Regions from separate parts of the Homo sapiens genome. Here regions 2, 3 and 4 are each linked to region 1. Evidence: promoter capture Hi-C in 16 types of primary human blood cells and fetal thymus (Javierre and others, 2016). All regions are on one chromosome and are shown on one strand. The core of a region is centred on a gene start or on the middle of the fragment in contact, and the rest is flanking DNA. Distances in the headings are between cores, read along the strand shown. Region 1 holds the start of SHISA7 (shisa family member 7). Region 2 has its middle 4.3 kb from the start of RDH13. Region 3 overlaps EPS8L1 (EPS8 signaling adaptor L1). Region 4 overlaps PPP1R12C (protein phosphatase 1 regulatory subunit 12C).

Evidence for each region. The method cuts DNA at HindIII sites, captures the fragments that hold promoters and counts their contacts. A CHiCAGO score of 5 or more calls a contact.
Region 2: a fragment that was not itself captured here is called in contact with the fragment with the promoter of SHISA7 in region 1 in 2 of 17 cell types (total CD8 T cells and activated CD4 T cells); the score reaches 6.1 in total CD8 T cells.
Region 3: a contact is called between a fragment that was not itself captured here and the fragment with the promoter of SHISA7 in region 1, in 6 of 17 cell types (activated CD4 T cells, fetal thymus, non-activated CD4 T cells and 3 more). The highest score is 7.5, in activated CD4 T cells.
Region 4: a contact is called between a fragment that was not itself captured here and the fragment with the promoter of SHISA7 in region 1, in 10 of 17 cell types (erythroblasts, naive CD8 T cells, non-activated CD4 T cells and 7 more). The highest score is 8.6, in erythroblasts.

What each region holds. Positions count from the first base shown.
Region 1 is chr19:55,441,933-55,444,651 of GRCh38, reverse strand. It overlaps SHISA7 (shisa family member 7), which reads left to right and starts at 1,352. Exons shown (of 4, transcript NM_001145176.2): 1 at 1,352-2,459. The coding sequence starts at 1,789. RefSeq lists a silencer at 2,449-2,538 and an enhancer at 2,032-2,660. The HindIII fragment of the contact is 48,275 bases long and covers 1-2,719 here.
Region 2 is chr19:55,066,067-55,068,785 of GRCh38, reverse strand. It overlaps a transcript of RDH13 not described here. Among named protein-coding and RNA genes, the nearest start is that of RDH13, 4.3 kb to the right of the region's middle. RefSeq lists a silencer at 2,428-2,628. The HindIII fragment of the contact is 249 bases long and covers 1,194-1,442 here.
Region 3 is chr19:55,085,317-55,088,035 of GRCh38, reverse strand. It overlaps EPS8L1 (EPS8 signaling adaptor L1), which reads right to left. Exons shown (of 20, transcript NM_133180.3): 15 at 2,063-2,195; 16 at 1,844-1,975; 17 at 1,518-1,644; 18 at 1,148-1,322; 19 at 601-733; 20 at 113-508. The coding sequence ends at 422. Among named protein-coding and RNA genes, the nearest start is that of EPS8L1, 11 kb to the right of the region's middle. The HindIII fragment of the contact is 4,773 bases long and covers 1-2,719 here.
Region 4 is chr19:55,110,161-55,112,879 of GRCh38, reverse strand. PPP1R12C (protein phosphatase 1 regulatory subunit 12C) reads left to right here. Exons shown (of 22, transcript NM_017607.4): 2 at 85-215; 3 at 295-413. Among named protein-coding and RNA genes, the nearest start is that of PPP1R12C, 6.1 kb to the left of the region's middle. The HindIII fragment of the contact is 402 bases long and covers 1,050-1,451 here.

The sequences.
Region 1 (2,719 bases), core at 103-2,602:
ACCTCTATCATCCCTCTAGGTCCACGGGGGTGGGCGTGTCTGGGACTTGGCTGGACTGTTGCCATAGAAACAGCTGGAAGACGTGCCCACCACCACCACCACCAACTCCCACCTCTCTTCTGCATCACCTTTTCTCTCTCTTTTGAGACAGGGTCTCACTCTGTCAACTCAGGCTGGAGTGCGGTGGTGAAATCACAGCTCCCAGCAGCCTTGATCTCTGGGACTCAAGTTATCCTCCCACCTCAGCGTCCTGAGTACCTGGGACTATAGGTGCGCACGACCACGCCGGGCTAATTTTTTTTTTTTTTTTTTTTGTAAAGACACGGTTTTGCTGTGTTGGCGAGGCTGGCTGGTCTCCTGCTTGAGCAATTTGCCCACCTTGGCCTCCCAGAGTGCTGGGATTTACAGGCGTGAGCCGCCGCACCCGGACGACCCTTTCTCAGCCTGTATCTCCCTTCTGAAATAGCAGCAGCAGCAAACACTTTCATATTTCACCTGCAATATGCCAGGCACTGTTCTAAGCTCTTTACACATATTCCCTCAGTTCATCCTCCTGACCACTCAGAGATAACCATCCTTATCCCCATTTTACAGATGGGGGACTTGGGGCACAGGGAGCTTAGATAAGAGCCTGTCAGTGTCAGGCAGCTGGCAGGAGGTCCAGTCGGCAGGGGAACCACCCTGCTGTGGTTGTGGTTCAGCTGTGGACAGAGACCCTTCAAACCCGACGCCGTAACAGTGGTGTGTGTGTGCGTGTGCATGCCAGGGAGAGAGAGAGAGAGAGGGAGAGAGAGGGAGGGAGGGAGGGCACCTAAGATCCCTTGATTATCAGATCTAACTAAGGGAGAGAAATTGGCATTTCGGGGCACTGAGGACCATAGGGGTGTAAGTCAGTGGTTCTCCACGGGGGCAGCTGTGGCCTCCTCCCACCAGGGGAACATTTGGCAATGCCTGGAAACATCTTACATTGTCACAACTCGGGGGAATGTGGTGCTGCTGGCATGGAGAGGGCGCTGCTAAACATCCTACAGCGCTCAGGACAGGCGCTCACCACAAAGCAGCATCGGTCCCCGAATGTCAGTGTTGAAAAACCGTGCACTGCCTCTTCCCACTTGCCTGGTCTATAAACTCAAATTCTCAACTTCTCTCTCTCCTCCTCCCTCCCTCTCCTCCCCCTCCTCCTCCTCCCCTTCTTTTCTCCCTCCTTCCCCGTCTCCCTGACTCCTCCTTTCCCACCCACCCCTCATCTGTCTCGCTTCCTTCCCTCCCTCCGCGGTCCCCACTCCCCTCGCCACCCTCCCCTCCCCTTCGCGCGCCTCCCTCCAGCTGCCTCCCCTGCCCTCTCCTCTTCGCCGCCCCCGTTTCTTCTCCTTACATCGCGCCTCGCCTCGCTCCTCGTCCTAATGTCTGCACACCCCTCTGGTGTCTGTCGACCCTCCCAATCGCTTCTCCCGCATTCATCTCTCGCCTGATCCCGGTTCTGTCCGCCCATGCTCATTTCTCTCCCCCAGCCGTGCCCGGGCGCGTTTCCATTACTCTCCCATCGTCGCCCACCGCGCGTGGGGCGGCCAACTTGGGCCCACGCAGCTCAGCTCCCTCCGCCCTTCCTGCCTCCTGGCGCCTGTTGCTCCCCACACTCTGCCGCCCCCCGCCCGCCCTCCCCAGCCTCTCTGCCCACCCATCTCTACGTTTCTCACCCTCTGACCGTTTCTCTCCCGCCCAGCGCTCCAACCTCTGCTCTCGTTCTCCCCGCAGCCTGGCGGCCCAGTGCGACCCCCTGCAAGCCCCATGCCGGCCCTCCTGCTCCTCGTACTCCTGGCCTCTAGCGCCGGCCAGGCCAGGGCGCGCCCGTCCAACGCCACGAGCGCCGAGCCCGCGGGCCCGCTGCCCGCCCTGCTGGCGCACCTGCGGCGCCTGACCGGGGCGCTGACGGGCGGCGGGGGCGCGGCGAGCCCAGGCGCCAACGGCACCAGGACCGGCCCCGCGGGCGGGGCGGGCGCGGCGGCCCGGGCGCCCCCTCCCGCCGAGCTCTGCCACGGCTACTACGATGTCATGGGCCAGTACGACGCCACCTTCAACTGCAGCACCGGCTCCTACCGCTTCTGCTGTGGCACCTGCCACTACCGCTTCTGCTGTGAGCACCGTCACATGCGCCTGGCGCAGGCCTCCTGCTCCAACTACGACACGCCGCGCTGGGCCACCACGCCGCCGCCGCTAGCTGGGGGCGCCGGGGGCGCTGGGGGTGCGGGCGGGGGGCCAGGGCCCGGCCAGGCCGGGTGGTTGGAAGGGGGCCGGACTGGGGGTGCCGGGGGCCGCGGGGGCGAGGGCCCCGGGGGCAGCACAGCCTACGTCGTGTGCGGGGTCATCAGCTTCGCCCTGGCCGTGGGCGTCGGCGCCAAAGTGGCCTTCAGCAAGGCGTCCCGTGCGCCCCGGGCGCACCGGGATATCAACGTGCCCAGGTGCGTGTGCTCTCGGGCGGGAGGACTGCGAGCCTGGGGCGGGGCCCAGCAAGGGAGGTGGAGCCATCCGAGGAGGAGGGGCTGCAGGGATAGGGCGTGGTGGTCAGAGACCCAGGTGGCGGCCGCCGGCGTAGCTGAAGGTGGGCAGGGGCTGAGAAAGTCGCGCCAGAGCCGGCCCGGCTGTTGCGGAGTGATGCAGGGAGAGGGAGAAGCCCAGACTCTCATTCATTCGACACATATTTCTTGAGCACCTTCTGTGG
Region 2 (2,719 bases), core at 69-2,568, 380 kb after region 1:
CGGCTCACTGCAAGCTCCGCCTCCCGGGTTCACGCCATTCTCCTGCCTCAGCCTCCCGAGTAGCTGGGACTACAGGCACCCGCCACCGTGCCTGGCTAATTTTTTTGTATTTTTAATAGAGACGGGGTTTCACTGTGTTAGCCAGGATGGTCTCGATCTCCTGACCTCGTGATCTGCATGCCTCGGCCTCCCAAAGTGCTGGGATTACAGGCCTGAGCCACAGTGCCCGGCCTCCTCTTTCTTTTTTTGAGACAGAATCTCACTCTGTCACCCAGGCTGGAGTGCAGAGGTGTGGTCTCGGCTCACTGCAACTTCCGCCTCCCAGGCTCAAGCGATTCTCCTGCCTCAGCCTTCCGAGTAGCTGGGACTACAGGCGCGTGCCACCATGCCCAGCTAATTTTTTGGTACTTGTAGTAGAGACAGGGTTTCACCATGTTGGCCAGGCTGGTTTCAAACCCCTAATCTCCAGTGATCTGCCTGCCTTGGCCTCTCAAAGTGCTGGGATTAAAGGCGTGAGCTACCGTGCCAGGCCGTGGAGTAGCTAAACTTATCTTACACTGCTGAGGTCTCTCAAGATGTGTGTAGGGAGAGAGAGTTGGGGGGAGAGAGAGAGACAAAGGAAAAGAGGAAGAGAGAGACAGGGAGAAAGAGAGGAAGAAAGAGAAAGAGAGAAACAGGAAGAGTGAGAGGAGAAAGAGAGGAAGGGGGAGAGAAAGAGAGATGGGGGAGAAAGAGAGAGAGAGAAGGAGACACAGGAGGGGGAGAGAAAGAGGGAGAGAGCAATGAGAGAGATATGAGACAGAGAAGAGAGAGAGAGGAGACACGGAGGAGGGGGACAGAAAGAGGGAGACAGAGAGATGAGAGAGAGAAAAGACACAGATGAGGGGGAGAGAAAGAGGGAGAGAGAGATGAGAGAGAGATTGATAGCACCCAGCTAATCAATCAGTGGCTTTAGTGCCATGAGCTGGAAGGGAGGAATGGATACTGGGGAACAGTTGGTTGACTTTCCCTGGTGGGACAGCCCCTCTTTCTAGAACTACCTTTCCTATGTCCCCTGTGCTTCTCTCCAGTCCATACTCTACATCTCAGCCAGAAAAGAAGAAATTCTAAAACATGTATCTGCCCGTGACATGACCCTCCTTGGCTCAACACTCTTCAGCGGTACCCAGCGCCCTCTGAGTCAACGCCAAGCTTCCTACCATGGCATTGGAGCCGCGCTCTGGGTCCTTTTACTGATGGCTCCCGCCTCAGCCCTTCCACCCCCTCCCATACCCTGCATGCCAGCCCAGGCAGCCCTCCCTCCTCCCACAATATCTCTCATATGCATTCCTGTCCCATGCCTTCTGCTTAAGCTGTTCCCACAGCCCGGAGTCTCCTCCCTGGCTGAGGGAAATCTTGCCGGCTCACATGGCCGTGATCCCCATCATTTCCTGCAGAAAGCTTGCCCAGCTCTCCGACACGGGGACCTTCTGCCCCTCCTGAGCCCTGAGTCCCCTCCATCTTAACTGGGAGGTCACCTGTTTGCGTGGTGTCTGCTCAGCTTGCAGGCAAGGCCACCAACACCCTCCTTTCCTGTCTTTCCTTCCTACCATCCTCTCCTGTCCACCCTCTGCCTCTCCCTCCCTTCTTCTCTTCTTTCCTTCTAGTTACTGAGCCATGCATGTGTTGCATGCAGCAAGGATGAATAAAATAAAATAAACCTACAGCAATCATTCCAGTTACTATGGCCATATAACAAATTATTCTAAAACTCAGTGGCTTCAGACAAGGATCATATCTATTTTACTCAAAAACCTACCATCTGCACAGGCCTTGGTGGAGGCAGCTTATCTGTGTGCCCTTTGGTGATGGCTGGGGCTGTCAAGAAGCTGGGGCAGTGCTTGGGCTGCAAAGACTCAAATGGCTGGAGTCTGGGACCACTGGAGCTCCTTGCCCCCCTTTGCTTATCTCTACACAGCCACAGGGTCGCTAAACTTACCTTACACTGCTGAGGCCTCTTAAGATGTGTGTAGGGAAAGAGAGTTGGGGGGAGAGGGAGAGAGAGAACAGAGAGAGAGAGACACACACAAGAAGAGAGAGAGGAAGAAAGAAGGAGAGAGAGGAAGAGGAAGGGAGAGGAAGAGAGAGAGAAAGAGAAAGAGGGAGAGAGAGAGGAGAGAAAGAGACAAGAAGAGAGGAAGAAAAAAGAGGAAGAGAGGGATAGAGGAAGACAGAAGGAGGGAGAGGGAGAGAGGAAGAGAGAGGAAAGAGAAAGGAAGGGAAAGAGAGATGTGAGAGAGAGGGAGAGAGAGAGAGAAAAGAGGACAGAGGAAGAGAGAGAGGAAGAGAGAGGGAGAGAGAGGGAGAGAAGACAGAGAGGGAGAGAGGAAGAGAAAAGGAGACAGAGAGAGGAGAGATAGAGAAGAACGAGAAAGGAGAGACAGAATGTGAATGAGAATTGGGTGCCATAAACCCTCTGATGGGGAAAGCAAAGGGCATTGTGGGAGAATCCTCTCAGCACCTGGGACAGCACCCAGTGCTGATCAGGAACATGTTAACAACCAGGAAAATGGTAAAGGCGTGGACAGCCCACCTGGAGTCCAAACAGATGTTCTAACTCCCTTGGGTGTGTCTGGGAATCAGGTAGGAGATCCTCAGAGGAGGAATATGCATGCATTGTTCTCTTTATAATAACCATATTAACAGCCAGCAATGTTCTGGCACTTACTATGGATTAAGT
Region 3 (2,719 bases), core at 87-2,586, 360 kb after region 1:
AAACCAAAGAGGGTGGAACATTTTCCAGGTTCCATGAGGCTGTGACTGGGTCGAGGGGCAGGTTTCTGAGCCCCCTGGTAGCCGGGTAGAGGACAGCAGTTGGCACACCATCTGCTAAGCACGGAGGCTGTTTATAGGCTGGGCCGCATATTACAATGCTCAGGGCTCCACTGCACCCTCTCGGGGGTCTGCTAGCGCTTTCCGTAGACTGTCTCCACGCCCTCCCCACTCCCAGCCAGTCCAGATCCTCTCCGGAGGGACTGCAGCAAGGATCGTTAAGTCTGTCCACCGGGATGGGGGAAGACCAGGGCCGGAGCAGATTGGCCATCCTTCAGAAGATCGACTTCCGCTATTGGGGAGAGTCTGAGGAGTCCGTTCTCCCACGGGGCCTCGTCACTCTTTGCGAAGGGCGCCTGGCAGGTCAAATGACCTCCATTTCCACCTCGCCTTCCACCTTCTTCTTTTGCTTCTCCATCACTGCCTCCAGCTCTGACACTTTCTCTTTGTCCTGGAGGGCGGGGTGGAAATCGCTTTGTCCTGGCGTCCGAGCCCTCGTCATCCCAACCCTACCCAGACCCAGGGACCAGCGGTCCGGCTCACCTCCAGCAGCGAGCGCTGCACGGTGACCTGGCTGTACACACGTGCCCCCTCCTCGGGGCTCACCGCCCGCAGCTCCTCCTTCTGCAGCGAGAAAAGCTGCGCCCCGGTCAGCACACCCAGCGCGTCCACGGTCCTGAGCGAGGGCAGCCCGGGCGCGGTCAGGCCGGTCGGCGGATGCCCCAGCCCGGACAATCATGTCACGCCCACCCGGCGATGGTCCAATCAGAACAGCATTCTAGCTCTAGCGGGGGCAGGCCCGACACCTCCTGAACCCCACCCACCAATCACAATGTTGCCACCCGGGGGGCGTGGCCGCATCCTGCTTTCAAAGGGTACGGGATTTCCCTAAGGAATCCAGTCGGAGTCTGAAAAAACATGGCAATCACAGCCTGCCATTGGGTGTTGCTACCAGACAGACCCTCACTTCGGGCTAATCCCGGCTCCCTGTGGTCTCCACGACTGCCGCCCCCCGACTCCCGGCCGATCGGAACGCTCCGCTCCCAGCGTCCGTATCAACCCGCGCCGAGAGGGCCCCGGCCCCACTCACCCGGAGCTAAAGCCCTTGGCCTGCAGCCAGGCGCGGACCTCGGAGGCGTCCGAGCCCGGGCTGAGCTGCGGTTCCGGGGCGCGGGGCCCTGGGACTGCGCGGCTCGGTCCCGAGCGGCCCTGGGCCAGGCGCGCCTGCAGTTCCTCGTTGACGATGAGCATCTGGGAGAATTTCTCTGCAGGCGGGAAACCGGGAGGTAGGGAGTGCGGGCTCAGGGCGAGGGGTCCTGGGGCCAGAGGGCGGGGCGGGGGGGCGCTCCAGCGTCCCCAGAATGGGACGGGAGTCCCTTTGCTCTTTCTGAGCCCCCGTTTCTCTGCCTGGAAAGCAAGGATAAGGACCGCTCCCCGCAGCCGGCGTCCCCACCACTCACCCTTCTCGCTGGGGTCCAAGCCGTTGAGGCTATCGCAGCTGTCCCAGCGGGGCCTGTCCCAGCGGGGCCGAGCCAGAGCTGGAGGTGGGGCCGGGGCTGGGGCTGGTGGTGGAGGAGGAGTGCTGTTCTGAAAGGAAGGAGAGGAGAGTACCTGGGTTAGGGAGAGGACTCAGAGTCCCAGCCTCTCCCCTTTCTGGAGATGCATTTCTGAACCCCCAGTCACCACCTGCTCCAGCACTCTTGACAGCTGATCCCCACGCCCCTTGTTCCCAGGATCTGGTCCCAGCCTCTCCACCCTCAAGATCCCAGCGTCTGCGCTGGCTCACCAGGCTGCGGGCAGGGCTTTGGCTGTGGTGCAGCCGGGGTCCGGGGTAGGGTGTCAGGATGTTGTAGGGCACATATCCCTCCTGCCCCGCTGGGTCCCGAACCTTCCACCACTTACGACTGTCATCCAGGACCTGGGTGTGGTAAAGAACAGAGGGTTCAGAGCCTGTCTGCAGCTAGGGCTGGCTAATTCCTGCCCCTCAGCCTCCCGCTCCTCTAACCTCCAGTACGTCCCGCTGCTTGACCGACAGCTCACTGCTGTTGCGGGCCTGGAAGTCATAATTACACAGGACCCATTTTCCTGCTGTCTCTGACTCCAGCTGAGGCTCAGATTCTGGCTCCAAGTCTCGGTGACTGAGGAGAAGCGGGAGGGTTGGAGATAAGGAGGCAGCCAGCCCCATTGCTCTGGGCTGCAGGGTGCTGGTGTGAGCTGGGGTTAGAGCCAAGCTGGGGGCACAGCAGGGGCCGGGTTAATACTGTTAATAGAAATTTGAAACAAGAATAACAGACTGAATATATTTGCTCCCTCCGTTGCTTGGCATTGTGCTGTAGGCATATGTAGTGGGTACTATCCCACCATCGATTCCATTTTACAGAGGAGAATGAGGCTCAGAGCGAGAAAATGACTTGCCCACATCACACAGCTAGAAACAGCTGTCATTTATTGAGCATCTAATAGGCACTGGGCTTTATATATCATAACTCATAAGCATAATAAAAACACTAGCTAGGCCGGGCGCGGTGGCTCACGCCTGTAATCCCAGCGCTTTGGGAGGCTGAGGCGGGCAGATCATGAGGTCAAGAGATCAAGACCATCCTGGCCAACATGGTGAAACCCTGTCTCTACTAAAAAATACCCAAATTAGCTGGGCGTGGTG
Region 4 (2,719 bases), core at 1-2,500, 330 kb after region 1:
TTTTCGTGGCTCCCTCTGGAGTCCCGACTTGCTGGGACACCGTGGCTGGGGTAGGTGCGGCTGACGGCTGTTTCCCACCCCCAGGCCTGCATTGATGAGAACCTGGAGGTGGTGCGCTTCTTGGTGGAGCAGGGCGCCACTGTGAACCAGGCAGACAACGAGGGCTGGACGCCACTGCACGTGGCCGCCTCCTGTGGCTACCTAGATATCGCCAGGTGAGGCAAGGGAGGGCCGGGCAGGACCTGGTCGGGGTGGGGGCCTGGACCCTCAGCCCTGACCAGCCCCCACCCCCAGGTACCTCCTGAGCCACGGGGCCAACATCGCCGCCGTCAACAGTGACGGGGACCTGCCCCTGGACCTGGCCGAGTCGGACGCCATGGAGGGGCTGCTGAAGGCGGAGATCGCCCGCCGAGGTGGGCTCTGGTGTGCTGTGTGTGGGGTGGGGGACACCTCCTCACCCGTGGTCTCCAGGCTGAGAGCTTTAGAGGCGGCCTGGGCACCGAGGCTGACCCTGCTTCCTAGGATTGTCTTTCTTTGTGCCTCAGTTTCCTCACCTGTGAAATGGGGGTGTAGGGGCCTGCCTCCAGGATTGCTTGGAGCCCAGCACACGCACAGGATGAGAACTCAAACCCCTACCAACTGGGACTGTCAATCCCCCTGAGTAACTGAGGGGATTGGAATGCCGGGGCGGGGTGGGTGGGTGGAGGGACTCACCCAGGAGTGCGTTAGGTAGGATTGCTGGAACCCTGCCGCAGGTCTTTCTGGGAGGGGATGCGTTTACTTGGGGGGGAGTAGGGGCATGCAGGGGTTGCCAGGGACTGGTCTCCCTGTCCTCTGAGACTCATCGTACCCCAGGAGCCTTCATATGGGGTCCAGGAGCCCCTGAAACTGTGTCTGGCCAGGTTCATTTTTCTAGGGAAGGGGTGTTGCTTCTAGCAGGTGTGTGATGGCCACACAGGATCCCTGGGTCCCCAGCATGTCTTCTAAAGTCCTGGGCTTGCCTCCCAGCTCTGCCTGTGACTGGTGACTCCAGGCACGTCCCTGAAGCTTGCTTCCCTGATTTCCTAAAACAGGACCACTGGTGCCGCTTCATGGGGTGGTTGTCAGGGTCTGGCTGGGTTGGAGTGGAAGGGTGTGAGCATGGTTCCCGGCAGACTCCAGGGGACCGTGTGGAAGGAAAGGGAGACTGACGAGGAAATGAGATACCGGCAGCCTCCGAGACTTCTGACGCGGCTGTCCTGACGGGGCCGCTGGCCAGGCTGAAAGGATAGGATTCCGCGTGGGTTCAGGGGTCCACGAGAGCCATGCGGGAGGACTAGCTAGTGGGACACGTGACGGCGGAGATCTGAGGTTCGGGAGCCCCTCTTTGGTTGAAATGGGGAGTGGGTCAAATCAGCCCTGGACCTGGATTCTGTCTCCTTCCTCCTCCAACTTTTTATTTTGGGAAAGCTTCAGATTTACAGAAAAGTTGAAGCAATAGCATGTGACTACCCATATGACTTTCACTAAGATTCGCCAGTGCTTTTTCTTTTTTGTTTTTGTTTTTTAGACAGCTTTTTGAGATGTAATTCACCTACCCTACAATTCACCCAAAGTGCACACTTCAGTGCTTTTTAGTCTATTCACGGGGTCGGGCATTTATGACCACATTGGTTGTAGAACATTTTCATCATCCCCCAACGAAACCCTGCAACCGCTTAGCCATCACCCCCAACCATGCACCCCCCCCTCCCCCCCACCCCACGAAGCCCTCTCTGCCTTCTGTCTGTGGATTTGCTGTTTTGTACACTTCACATAAAGGGAATCATACAGTATAGAATCATCAGCTTTTAACTTTTTGATAGATTTGTGTTCCTTCTCTCTGTCCCTCCCTTGCGATCTCTTCCCAGGTATAGACATAAACACATTTTTTCCTATCCTTTCTCCTCCTGTTTTTTTCCCTCCATCTCTCCCTTCCTTTCTTACCACCCCACCCCTGCCTTTCCATTCCTGAGCCTTTTTTTTTTTTTTGAAACAGAGTTTCACTTTTTGCCCAGGCTGGAGTGCAATGGCATGATTTCGGCTCACTGCAACCTCCACCTCCTGGGTTCAAGCGATTCTCCTGCCTCAGCTTCTGGGTAGCTGAGATTACAGGCGTGAGCCAGCATGCCCAGCTAATTTTGCATTTTTAATAGAGATGGGGTTTCACCATGTTGACCAGGCTGGTCTCCAACTCCTGACCTCAGGCGATCTGCTGGCCTCGGCCTCGCAAAGTGTTGGGATTACAGGCGTGAGCCCGGCCATTCTGAGACTGTGTTGCAGGCATTGTACATCTTCGCCTGATGCACAGCAGGTATCTCCTGCCACAAGGAAAACCTCCTGCAGAACCACAGTAGGGATGCAACACGCTACCCCCTGTGTTGACCTTGATGCTACACTCTCACCCACCGCACCAACCTTGATGCTACACTCTCACCCACCGCACCAACCTTGATGCTACACTCTCACCCACCGCACCAACCTTGATGCTACACTCTCACCCACCGCACCAACCTTGATGCTACACTCTCACCCACCGCACCAACCTTGATGCTACACTCTCACCCACTGCACCAACCTTGATGCTACACTGTTGCCTGCGTTTCTCCTTGACATTCTTTGTAGCCTCTCCCGCTCTGGTTCAGGGCCCAGCTAGGGATCCAGATCTGGGTGATTTAGGCTCCCTCTGTCTGGATCAGTC